Linked DNA regions of Homo sapiens: all the other regions are linked to region 1. Evidence: promoter capture Hi-C in 16 types of primary human blood cells and fetal thymus (Javierre and others, 2016). All regions are on one chromosome and are shown on one strand. Each heading gives the region's core, a stretch centred on a gene start or on the middle of the fragment in contact. The rest is flanking DNA. Distances are from core to core; before and after follow the strand shown. Region 1 holds the start of PCDH1 (protocadherin 1). Region 2 has its middle 69 kb from the start of ARAP3. Region 3 overlaps LOC124901094 (a long non-coding RNA gene). Region 4 has its middle 90 kb from the start of PCDH1.

Region 1 (3,036 bases), core at 376-2,875:
GCTGGGGGCAGGGAGACCGGGGCAGCTCTTCTGTGGAAGATTTCTTCTCTCTGGGCCACTGATTCCCTCCTCGGAGCTGTGCTCAATGATGTGGAGAGTATGAGCTTTCTAGAGACAGAAAGAAGCTACTTACAGAACAGACCCACCCCCCTCTTTCACCAGATTACCCCATCTCCCATCTAGAGCCCTGCCCCTGGGCTCCTGGGGCTGAGGGATAGAGCAGAGCCCAGGTCAGAAAAGGAGTCCAGTTAAGCAGGGCTGCTCTGGGAGAGATCTTGGACAGACTTTGCTTGCCCTCTTAGCTAACCAGAGATTCCACTTTTACCCTGAAGAGCATCCCACCGAGAGAGGCCAGAGCTGAGAAGAGAAGGAAGTAGAAGAAAGAGGAAAGGCACAGAAGAGTGGTAGGAACAGGAAAATGGGGAAGGACAGAGATGGGGAGTCAGAGGCTATGGCAAAAAGAGGCCCAACAACTGGTCATCCCATAACAAGAGCCTTTCCTCACCCAGCACTAGGCCTGGCTAGGGATAACCTTCCTCATTCTTTTGACCTAGAACACTCTGCCTGGGCCTGCAGGCGAAGAAGGCAGGAGGTCCTGTTGAACTGGGACACTTGGTAGCCTGGGTTACCAAACCGCAAGCGCAGGAGAGGGAGTTCCCAAGCTACTCAGAGACCTCTAGATGGCGCCAGAGAGCCAGAGCTGAATGGGAGAAACCGAGTATTGGAGTGTGTGAGACACTGCGTGTGACACCGTGTGTGATTTGGTGTGAGTGTGATAGGGAGCGTGTGGCACTGCGAGGGCGTGTGACACAGGCCGTGACACTGCGCGGCCTCGCGGGGCAGGGACCCGGTGACTGTATAATGTAAGTCACTGGCAAATACGTGTGGCCGCAGCACTACGCCGTGCAGAGGGCAGGTGATCAGGGGACCCTCGAATAGCCTAAGCTCAGGAGCAGCACTTCGTCTTCACGCTTGTGTATCTTCCCCATCCTCACTCTAGAGCCCCCGGGTCCCATTAGCCTCCTCCTCCCACGGTCCCCTCCATAGCCCCACCCCCACGGCTTGCTGCGGCCACCGAGGCTGACCGCTCTGCGGCTTCGGCCGGAGGGGGAGGGGTGGACTTTCCCCGAGCGCAGCGGGAAGGGAGGGCCACACAGGGCGATCGGGGATCTGGGCGGGAAGAGGGTGGATATGGAGGAGCAGGTGCCCAGGGAAGAAGGCGCTGTGGGAGACACTTCCCTTGCCTCGACTTCCCAGGGGGCAGACAGAGCTGGGGACAGGTGTTTGAGTAGGGTAAGGAGGGGAATCCAGGAGCGGTCCTAGATGGAGGCTTGGGTGGGATAAGTGTAAGGTGAAGCTCAGAGGAGGGCACGGCCTGTGTACTGGGCCTCGGGCAGTGAAGAGATGGCAGAGGGAGGGGTCCAGGCTTTGGGGAGCGGTGCTCGGGGTCCCCTCCCAGCCGGACCGGAGCGGTCCCGAGCTCCACCTCCCGGCCGGAGGGGGGGCGGGGAGGCGGGCGGGCCGGGAGGGAGGGGGGAGGGAGGGGGCGGGCCGGGCTGTGCGCTCCGCTCTCTGCTGGCTCCGCCGCCGCCGCCGCCGCCGCCGCCGCCGCCGCCGCCGCCTCACACACTCGGGGAGCGGGAGCGCGGCGCGGACGCAAAGCCGCCGGGCTGCTGCGCCCAGAGCCAGCCGGAGCCGGAGCCGGAGCCCGAACTGCAGCTCCAGCCCCAGCCGTGCGGAGCCGCAGCCCAGGCCGGGGCCGGCGGCGGCTCATGGACAGCGGGGCGGGCGGCCGGCGCTGCCCGGAGGCGGGTAAGGATCCGGCGGCGGTGGAGGCAGCAGCGGCTTGGGGCCCGAAGCGGTCATGGCCGGCGGGAGCTGAGGGAGGGGCGCTCGGCGGAGCGAGGCCGCGGGGGCCCAACACGAGCTCGGCGCGAGGGGGCTGAGGTGGGGGCTGCTGGGAGCCCATAGCAGGGGATGCGGCTGAGGGATTCCGTCCTCCCAGGTCCGCGGCGAGAAGCCGAGGGAGGGGAGGGGGTGCTGAGCAGAACCCTAGTCCCCGCGTCCCAAACCTGGGCGCGCTCGGAGAGACGGGGATAAGGAGACTCCAGGAGCGCGCGGCGTGGAGGATGGGTTTGGGGAAGCGCGCGGCCCCCAGTTTGGTGGGGGTCTCCCGGAGGACGGAGCAAGCAAGGACCGTTGTCCACAACACATACATACACACTTGTTGGGCAACTACCTCGGCTCACTCAGCCGCTTCCAGCTTCTCGCGGGCACCCAGAGGGCCAGACCGTGGACATATATACACACATACATACATCCCTGCATATGTGCACACAGACATACCTCCCGCACACCAGCGCCCACTGGGGCACCGTCGCCAGCTCAGAATCCGCTTCAGTGTCTGCACGATCAGCAGCACCGACACACAACCCGTGGCTTTACAGAGCAATAACACAACCGGGTGTGACACCCCGCGACGTGGACACACAAACACAATCTCGTGCCCTCATGTACGAGTGTCACAGCCACAGTTCACTAGATGAACCCTCAAAACCTAGCCACCCCCCACATTCCTTTAAGGAACACACCCTAGCATATATCATCTTACCCACTTCTTGGCCAGAACATAGGTACACAGCACAGGTCTCCTTGCACCCCTCTACTGCACCCACACAAACACACAACCCAGTATCTCAGCACACGCTTGATGGCACACACTCTAACACAGGAATTGGCACCTACAGCAGCGCCTCACGGTCACAAACACAGAATCCACTGCTTCACCCATCTTAACACTGGGTGTCACACACACCTTAAACCAACAGTGTCACATTACATTACACCCTGCAGCGCATACACACAAACACACACACTCCGTTCCTCTCTCTCGGAGTCCAGATTCAGGCAGGAGAAGCCGCCGGGGTCGTTCGGCGAGCCCCAAGCGCCCCGCCACGTTAATCGCGACATTATTATTGTAAATATCGGCACAGCGGGAAGGCTGGGCCGGCCTGCCGGCTTCCCAGTCGGCGCCTC
Region 2 (3,036 bases), core at 136-2,635, 130 kb after region 1:
CATTATCTCACTGCATCATTACAGCCCTACAAGGTACACAGTTATTATTCCCATTTTATTTGTTAAATAGCATTTTATTATTACCGAAGTAATAAATATGAATTGTGCAAAATTTTAAAAGTACAGAAAGCAAAAATATAAAAATAAAAACATCATATTCCTACCACCATTAACACCTTAATGCATGTCCCTCCAGATCTTTTTCTTACATACAAGTATCTTTTTACCAAAATGTGATTGAATTATACATACTGCTTTATGATCTGTTTTTTAACCAACAATCTCTACCTTTTCTATTTCAGTAAATTTTCATCCCTTTTAATGCCCAGAACCTATAAAAATTTCCCCAAATGACCCCCAAGAAGTCCTTTACAGTTGGTCCGAATCCAATACAGGGATAGCATCTGATTGTTATGTGTATTAAATCGCTTAAAATGGTGCATTCCCCTGGTTTTTTTGGTCATTAATGCATTGAAATATTCAGATTAGTTTCCCCACAGAATATTCTTCCTTCCAACTGCCTGGTTACTTCCTTGTGCTGTTGTTGAGGTTGTGAAACTATCCCAGTGTTTTCTATAAACAGGGAGTTAGATCTAAAGGCTAGAACAATTCAAGTTCAACATTCTTGGCTAGAACACATGTGAGGCGATGTCATATACTTCACTTTGCACCGTATCAGAAGACGTAGAACATCAAATTCATCCACCATGAGAAATGCTCAGATAGACACCTGCTGATGATAGTTATGATTTCCTCCCCATCTTCCTTCTAGTAAATTATGTTTGTGGGTTACTCTGACACCACGCAAATGTCCGTTTCCCCATCAGCCATTCACCTAATGGTTATTAATACCAATACATAATCCTTGCCTGATTACTCTCATGTTTAAAGATGAAAAAACTGAGACTCAGACTGGGGAACATAGTCGTTCAAGCTCACACAATCAGCAAATTAGGACTCAGACTAGAAATCAAGTTTTCTTCCTCTTTCCCACCATACTGAGTTGGGAGCACGTTAGGTGTCTGGCGCACATTTAAATGTGTAAAAACCTTCGGGGGAGGGGGATTTCCTCTCCTTATGGTCTAGGCTGACCAGAGGTGGAAAAGCTTCTTGGTGAACCCCAATCTGCCTCCTGGTTGAGAGCTGATGCCACTAATATGGTTATCAGTGAAGCAACTCGACTCAGCAACTGCTATGTGGCAGCCCATGCTAAGTGCTTTATGAACATTAGCTTCTCGAATTCTCCCAAGAAACATGCAAGGTACGCATTATTACTAGGCTCTGACCCTTTTACAGATGAGAAAAATGAGGCTCAGAGAGGTTAAGTACTTGCCTAGGGCTGCACAGCTCATGATCAATGGAGCCAGGATTAGTTCTGACTCCAAAACTCAGGCACTTGACTGTCTCCTTGACCTGGCCTCTCAAGCTGGCCTCTCTCCCATTCCCAAGGCTGAAGAGTGAAGCTAATGAACGAGGCTTGGGGCCTCCTCCTTATGTGGCTGGTTCTGACATTGCCCACAGCTCTGTGACTATCTGTCAGCATCAGCAAGAGCATCACAGAGTTCTCTGGGTCCCCTCTGCTGGCCTCTACTCACCATATGGCTCTTGCCAGAATATGACTTGGTTCCTCCAGCCTCTGCATCCCATTAATCCTTCCAAGCTTTGCTCCCCCTGACCCCAGCCCTGGCCCTAATGCCTCCATCAGAGCATCTCACACTTGTTTATGAAACACTTTCCTTTGCTCACATTTATGTAGTTGGAATCCCAAGACTACCCTTGAAGGAGGCAGGGAAATGGGCTCCATTTGATAGATGCAGACACTGAGGCTTGGGGTGAGGAACGCTCTGGGCCCAGACCTGCTACGCTCCTGTCCCAGTCAGCATTTTCAAAATGGGCTCTAGCCCCTTAGCAAAGTCAGGACTAACCTCAGAGTTGGTGCCTTGCTGCTGTTTGGAATGTGAGGCTTGTCCTTGGGTGGGGCCTGTGGCAGTGGATTTGGGGTCAGCCCTGTATCCTCTAGCCCTGCCAGGGAGCAAGTCTCTGAAATGTCACCAGCACTGAGGGCATCCTGAGAAATGTCAGCAAATGCTGATTTGGTCCCTTGGCAGAGGGTGGAGCCAGCCTTTTTCTGCAGAGCCTCCCTCCACCATCTCCCTGTTCCCAGCTGCAGAAGAAAGAGAAGCCAAAGAACCCTTAGAGTTTGCCTAATCCAACCCCACCATCTTAGAGATGGGAGAACTGAGACCCCAGAACTCACAGAGCAAGCCAGCATCTATTTTCTTCTCTGGAAACATCAAGAATTAGTCATGGACCTCCACCCATCCACCCTATTCCCCATTCCCCACCACGGTCTATCTGGAGCCCCTTGAGTCAAGACCCCGGTTCCCAGAAGTCACAGGAGCAGAAAGAAGAAGGGACTAAGGAGCCAGCTCATGGCTGTGGGCCCAGCATTAGGGGCTGCAGGAAGGAGAACAGCTTGATCCAGCCACCATACCAGCCTCTGTCCTCCTCACCACAATACTAGACTGACACCTGGACCAGCTCTTCCTGAACCTCCAGAATGGAGAAAATAAAGTTCCTACCAAATGGTGGAGGCAGTGACACAGTAGCTTCCATGTGCTCTGGGAACTGACTGCCTTCTCCAGGCCCTGTGTGGCTAGTGCTTCTCCCATTTCACACCTCTGTTTGTGAGAGCCCTTTGCTCCATCATCCTCTAGGCCCTATCAAGGGAAGGCTACTTCTTCCCCCAGCCCAGTGAATCCTACCAAGACTCCATCCTTTCATTTTCACTGCTATGGAGTACAAAGGACCCCATCTCTCCATCTCAGGCAATCATCCAAAACCTTGAGAAGTCTGGACCTCATGTTTTTGGCTACAGAGCCTGCGTTCTCCATTCCTCTGGTCCTCCCACAGTTGTCTATACAGTTGTAGTATACAGTGATTGTTCAGAGTCCTCTCTGTGCTGTGTGTGTCTCTGTGCTGAGAAAAGGAGTTCAGTGAGGGGAGTTGGTTCCATCCTTATCTCCCATGCCTGCC
Region 3 (3,036 bases), core at 397-2,896, 110 kb after region 1:
CTGGTAGATGAAGAGAAAACTTGCTTCTCATCATTTCCCAATCACTTCCAAGTCTAACTCAGAGCCAAATGTAATCTCACTCTGACACCAAGCCTCATACCAACAGCAAACCTACAATCAACCACAACCCTATTGACCCACTCCTCATCTCTAAATCCAAGCCTCATCCGACTACAGTTTCAACCCTAATCCCACACTTCATACCAAAATCAAGCCAAAATGCTCCAACTCAAACTCTAAGAGCAATTAGAATCCTAATATCATTTCCAACCCCAATCTAATCTTAACCAATCCATCACTCATCCCAGACTTCAACCCTAGTTCTTACTGTAATATCCATCTCATAGGGAAATCCACCCCCAACTTCTTTCCCAGTCCTTATTTCTCACCTGACCCAACCCCTTCTCCAACAACAATTTTACCTCCTAACTGCAATTGATGCCAATCACTTGCCCTGGCACTACATCTAGCCCCTGGCTTGGCCCTGTGGCACCTAGACAAGGCTGATTGAGGGTTAGAGGACTGCCATCTTGAGCCAAGCCACCAAGCCATGGGAACTTCAGGGTGGTGCCCCCCACTTTTTGAGTGCTCAAGGTCCCGGCTCTAAGTCTAGGAGTCTGGGCTCTTCCTGCTATGTTCAGCTCCCAGCCACCGGCCCCAGTGACACCAGCCGCTGGGCCTGAGCTAAGAAGCCATGCTTCTCCTGAAGAATGGCAAGAAATTAGCACTTGGCTGGGCCGCCCCATCATTGCTGTTCCTCACACCTTGCTGGGTAATTTCTACAAGACCAAAGCCTGAGCCTAATGGGCCGCCTGCTTCCAGCCCGGTGGACAACATCAGGGAAAGCAGCCCCCAGGGTTTCTCACAGACTAAGGGGCTCTGTGCTCTGCTGAAAGGATGGTGCTTACAGTTGTCAGGAGAGAAGGACACTCTGAAAGCTTGGGATCCTACAGCTGTTGGGTGAGAATGAGCAAGTTAAGAGTGCTCTGCTGAGCCTAAAAAGCAGGAAAACGTTCTCTGCGGCAATGGGAAAAGGAGTCATCTCTGTTAGTGACTTGAGTGCCAAAGAGCCATGTCTGTGCTCGGCACACGCCGAGTGGTGAAGCCTCCAGCGTGTACAGCCATCCAAGCAGCCCCACCGAGAACAGCTCTGTGTACCATGCCCCATTCCTGGGCCCACCACCGTCCACCCTCGAGCCACCCGGTGACGAACACCAGCCATCACCACCGCATGGGCTGGCACCCCACCAGTCCGCTGTCATCACCCACCCCTCTTCCTGGGGTCGGTCTGTCTGCTTAGATGGGGAGCTGGATGGCTGGCCTGGCCGCCAACTCTGCGTTCCCTGCCGGGCCCAGTGCACCATGATTGCTCACCAAAAGCTAACTAAATGGTCTGAACTTTCTCCAGCTTTCTTTCCCAGCAATTTCCACTTCCTGGGAGGGAGGAATGGTGACTTCCGCTCCATCCTACAAGGAAGGCAAGATGGTCTGGTGGCTAAGAGGCATAGCTCTAAAAACAAGCAAACATGTCTGACCACTAACCGTACCTCCAGCCCTATCATTTGCTAGCTGGATGGGCCTTGGGCAAGACATCTTGACTTCTCTGAACTTCAGTTTTCTGTTCTGTAAAGTGAAGATAATTATGGTACCTGTCTCAAAGAGCTGCTTTAAGAATTCAGTGAGGTAGCACACAGTAAGTGTGTGTGTGTGTGTGAGTGCTGAGCATAGTGGCTGACACACAGTAGGTCCTCAGTAAACATTAACTTAGGATCATGATGTGGCTACAGACATTGGTAGCCTAACTTCAAGACAGGGTCCCAAGAGGGGGTCAGTTTGGTCATTGTCCTGGAGAAGGCCCTAAACTTGATGTGTTTACGGTCTTGTCGGAAGCACCCACTTTGCTTTCTCTTCATCCTACCAGACATTCTCCTTTCCCCGTACCACCCTGGGCCAGGGAACCCAGTCATTCCTTCATTCACCCATTCACACATTCACTCATTCACTTCATTCACTCATTCAATATCCAACAAATATTTACAGATTGATTATTCTAATCCAGGCCCTGTGCTATGGGCTGGGGGATAAGTAAACAGGTCAAGGTGCCTACTTTCATGATACCCATGGCCTAAAGTGAAGGGGGCTGGGTGCTTTATCAGTGCTAGGGTGAGGGGCACACAGGAGGACACCCTGGTCTCAGGAATGGCTTCCTGGAGATGGGCTTGTATAAGCTAACATCTGGAGGACAAATAGGAGTTAGCTGGGCAAAGGTAGCCAGGCAAAAGGGAGAAAGAGTGTCTCAGGCAGAGGAAAACAGCCCCGGCAAAGGCCTGGGTGGGAGAAGACATGCAAGCTTTGTGTGACGAGTGTCCTGAGTCGAAGTGGAGCCATAAGCAATGATGCACCATGCAGGCTAGAGTTTGTTATCCTTCCTGGGAGCTCTCCCTGCTGGGATGGTCCTGCTGATACTTTTCCTTCTCTCCACACGCAGCCTCCACAAGGAGACCTGTCCTGAGCCCCTGCCTGGTTGTTGGGGAAAGGAAGGAGAGAGGGTGAGACCCAGGAGAGGAATTTGCACCCTGGGAGGGCCTGAGATGGAAAGAAACCAGGAAGAGTGATTCCTCAGCTGGAGATAATGTCTACAGTAACCAGTCCACTGAGGCATGAACTCCATTTTCTCACTCAATCTTCATAACAGCATTACAAGGAGATACTCTTATTAGTTCCGTTTTGCAAATGATGAGACTAACACATTGAGAGTTTCAGTAACATGCTTCACACCTACAGAATGTGGCCCTGGTGTCAGTCCCCAGAGCCTGTGCTCTTAACCCCCAGGCCACCCTGGATATGGGGCAGCACAGGGGTGGGGGTGGGGACCAGGGACAGGAAGGCAGTGGAGGGAATGGTTCTTGGGGTAGCTCCCCTTGGCCTCTTGACCAGCCAGTCTCCTTGAGACAGACCAGGGAGCAAGTGCCTGCCAGAGCCTGACAGGACAAAGTTCCCCATTCAGAGTTCTGATGATCTCTCCCAGCTGCTCAG
Region 4 (3,036 bases), core at 312-2,811, 90 kb after region 1:
TCAGTGCTATGGCAGGCTAAGTCCTGGGGGCCATGACAACCCACACCCATAAAGGGTGTGCCTCAGTGGTAGTCAGAGGCTTCCAACAGGAGCTGACTTCTGAATTGAGACCTGAGGAACAGAGAGAGATTTGCCTGGAGATAATGAGTGACGGAGACTCTGAGAGTAGAGACCATCAGCGCCCAGGCCTGGAGGGGAGAGCAAGCAGGGACCCCAGGACCTTGTGCAATGGGAGCTGAGGCCAGAGTGGAGGAGTTTGGCTTTTATCCTGAGGGCAGTGTGGAGCCACTGTAGGACACTGAGGAGAGCAGTGACATGGGTGTTCTTATAGAAACATCTGCCTGGTTTCAGTGCAGGGACTGGAAGGGAGAGGGGTGAGGGTGGGGAGTGAGGAGGTCAATGGGCCTGGGCTGCAGAGATGGAGAAAAATGGACATGTGCCTTCCAGGAGTGATTGTGGCCAGGGCTGGAATTCTGATGATTGCTGGCTGAAGAGTCTGGCTTGCGCACTCCACCCCTGGAGGGTGCCTGGAAGAGGCACATGGGTTGAGGGGAGGTTTGCACATCTGGACCCTGGGGTGGAGGCGTCTTGTGGCCCAGGTCCCTGTCTGGGAAGGGGCTTGAGGGAGCCTTGGGGAGCAGGAGGCAGGGTAAAGAGAAGGAGCCCAGGAATCCCCTGCAACTCTGGCTTGGCCCAGCTGAGCTCTCTATGCAGCTGGAGCCACAAGGATTCCAGGCTCAAGGGAGGCTGTAGCAGGATGTTTAATTCTCTAATCTCTGAATCCTCCTGAAATCCCTTTCAGCCTTGCACAGCCCTCTGGCGCATCTCCCGATGGTGGCTGGTGGGCACCTCCTTGTGCTTCTTGCACACATACCATGCCCCCTAACGCATACATCCATACACAGATGCACACACAGCATGTTTCAGGCTCTGATGAGCCCTGGTAGAAGGGAGGCAGGGAGTTAGAGCGCACCTAGGAGAAAAAGGAGGAGGTGGGAGAAGTAGGAGAGAGAAGGAGGGGAAGGAGGATCTTGGAGGCTCTCTGGTGGTGATAAGGTGGTGAAACTCCCAGCTCCAGTTTCCGTGGCTCAGGATGGGATTAACCTGTTAGGGTAGAGGGGAGAAGGGAAAGGTGTCACTGCACCAAGTGGCAGGGAGTGTGCTCTCCCTAGTGGAGCTTCAGTTGGGTATCAAACCTCCAGACCCCTTCTCTTCTAGCTCCCTTGGGGCAGATGGCTCTGTGTCGCCTCCCCAAAGCCACCTCTGCCCTTTCCCCTCCAGAGGATCTGCAGCAGGTCATGTGTGTATGCACGCACATGTGTATGAGAGTGTGTGTGTGTGTAAGCTTTAGGAGAGGGAAGTGTGGGGGTGTAGAGGGAAAGGAGAGGAAGCAAAGCCTAGCCTCCCCTTCTAACACAGACAGACAGGAGGGACTGTTCCCACACTTGGGGGAGGTAAGACAGATGGTTGGTAGCCTCCCTGAAGGTCTCTCTCTCTCTCCTCTCTGGGCCCCAATCCTCCCTCCAAACGGCAGCCCTATCACCCTCCTACCTAAAATCTTTCTGTAGTTCTTCAATGCCCTCAGAATAAAGTCCAAGCTCTCAAGCCAGCCTCTGTCAACCCTCCAGCCTCTGCTCTCGACACCAAAGCCTCCAGGCTTCTTCTCAGTCCTGTTCCTTCTGCTTAGAACATTCTCCATGTCCAGCCCCACACCTTATCCTTGTTTATATGGCTAATTCTTCCTCATCCTTTAGGTCTCAGAAACTAGAAAGCTTTCTCAGACTATACCTGCAAGCTAGATAACGTTTCTCCTTTGGGTAGGTACCCCAGGGCCACTGCTGGCACCCCCAACCCCTACTGTCATTGCCTGTGCTTCCTCCATCCTAGCCCTGATCACTTTGTGTTGTAACTCTCAGGGCAGGAACTTGCCTTGCTAGAATCCTTAATGCCTGGCATGGTGCCTAGGACTCATTAGATATTGGTGGAAGAAAACCCCAGGAATTACCCAATGGTAATCTTTCTTTTCTGCTAGTAGAAGCATAGAGAAAACTGAAACGAATCCCAATCCCCCTCACTTTTTTTTTTTTTTTTTTTTTAAAGAGAGAGTCTCACTATGTTGCCCAGGCTTGCCTTGAACTCCTAGACTCAAGCGACCCTCCTGCCTCTGCCTCCCAAATAGCTAGGACTACAGGCATGTGCCCCCACGCCTGGAAGAATTCTCTATTTTTGAGGCCCAGACAGTGGAAGGGACTTGGCCAAGGTCATACAGAGGGAGTATCTGAACCAGGAAAAGAACCCAGGAGTCCTAACCCCAGACCCTTGTCCTCCCATGGTGGAGGGGAGGCAGATGGCAGGAGGTGTAGAGGGGTTGCAGTGGGGAGAGGTTCAGTGGGAGGATCCCGCAACAGCAGGGCCAGTGATGTGTGTGCAGACATGCGTGTGCTGTGATTCATGGCTGGGCACCCTCCTCAGGCCCATGTTCTTGGCTGGCCCACAGTGAAAAGGCCCAGCTCCCTGGAGGAGCCCACCTAGAACTGGATGGTGGGGGTGTTGGGGAGCAGAGCTGGCCAGGCCCTGGGATTGGGGGTTGTTGACGTCATCTCAAACCCCTGTGGAAGCTGACAGTGAAGACCCGGGGGGCAAGGCAGGCACTGGGGATGCAATCACAGGCTAATAGCCTCCCAGCCTGAGATGCAATTAGGGGCAGATTCCCAGTGGGCCTGGAGGCAGTGGGAAGGGCAGTTTGTTGTTTGGAGGTGGGAGTGGGGCCTACATCTGCAATCCTGCACTCAGGTTCAGAGGAGCCAGAATGGGAGCATGGGTGGGGTAAGGAGACCCCCCCAAAAGAAGTAACGGTTGCAGACATGGGTGAGGCAGAGGGGTACTTGGAGGTAAAGCATCATCATGGAAGATTAATAATTGGGAAAGTTACTTCCCCCAGACCCCGGATGTAATAGTGAAAGAGCCAAGCTAAGTTACTTTAGGTCCTTAGCCTTTCTGCCTGGTGATTTCCCTCCCTGTAAGATGGGAACAATA

The links. The method cuts DNA at HindIII sites, captures the fragments that hold promoters and counts their contacts. A CHiCAGO score of 5 or more calls a contact.
Region 2: a contact is called between a fragment that was not itself captured here and the fragment with the promoter of PCDH1 in region 1, in 4 of 17 cell types (endothelial precursors, M2 macrophages, M1 macrophages and 1 more). The highest score is 13.6, in endothelial precursors.
Region 3: a fragment that was not itself captured here is called in contact with the fragment with the promoter of PCDH1 in region 1 in 1 of 17 cell types (endothelial precursors); the score reaches 7.2 in endothelial precursors.
Region 4: a fragment that was not itself captured here is called in contact with the fragment with the promoter of PCDH1 in region 1 in 1 of 17 cell types (endothelial precursors); the score reaches 5.6 in endothelial precursors.

Annotation. Positions count from the first base shown.
Region 1 is chr5:141,876,999-141,880,034 of GRCh38, reverse strand. It overlaps PCDH1 (protocadherin 1), which reads left to right and starts at 1,625. Exons shown (of 5, transcript NM_032420.5): 1 at 1,625-1,812. The coding sequence starts at 1,773. RefSeq lists enhancers at 1,627-2,376, 2,643-3,036. The HindIII fragment of the contact is 20,024 bases long and covers 1-3,036 here.
Region 2 is chr5:141,749,264-141,752,299 of GRCh38, reverse strand. No RefSeq gene overlaps it. Among named protein-coding and RNA genes, the nearest start is that of ARAP3, 69 kb to the right of the region's middle. The HindIII fragment of the contact is 554 bases long and covers 1,109-1,662 here.
Region 3 is chr5:141,766,084-141,769,119 of GRCh38, reverse strand. It overlaps LOC124901094 (a long non-coding RNA gene), which reads left to right. Exons shown (of 2, transcript XR_007058975.1): 2 at 1-3,036. Among named protein-coding and RNA genes, the nearest start is that of ARAP3, 85 kb to the right of the region's middle. The HindIII fragment of the contact is 1,412 bases long and covers 941-2,352 here.
Region 4 is chr5:141,786,497-141,789,532 of GRCh38, reverse strand. No RefSeq gene overlaps it. Among named protein-coding and RNA genes, the nearest start is that of PCDH1, 90 kb to the left of the region's middle. RefSeq lists enhancers at 2,031-2,531, 2,532-3,032. The HindIII fragment of the contact is 427 bases long and covers 1,348-1,774 here.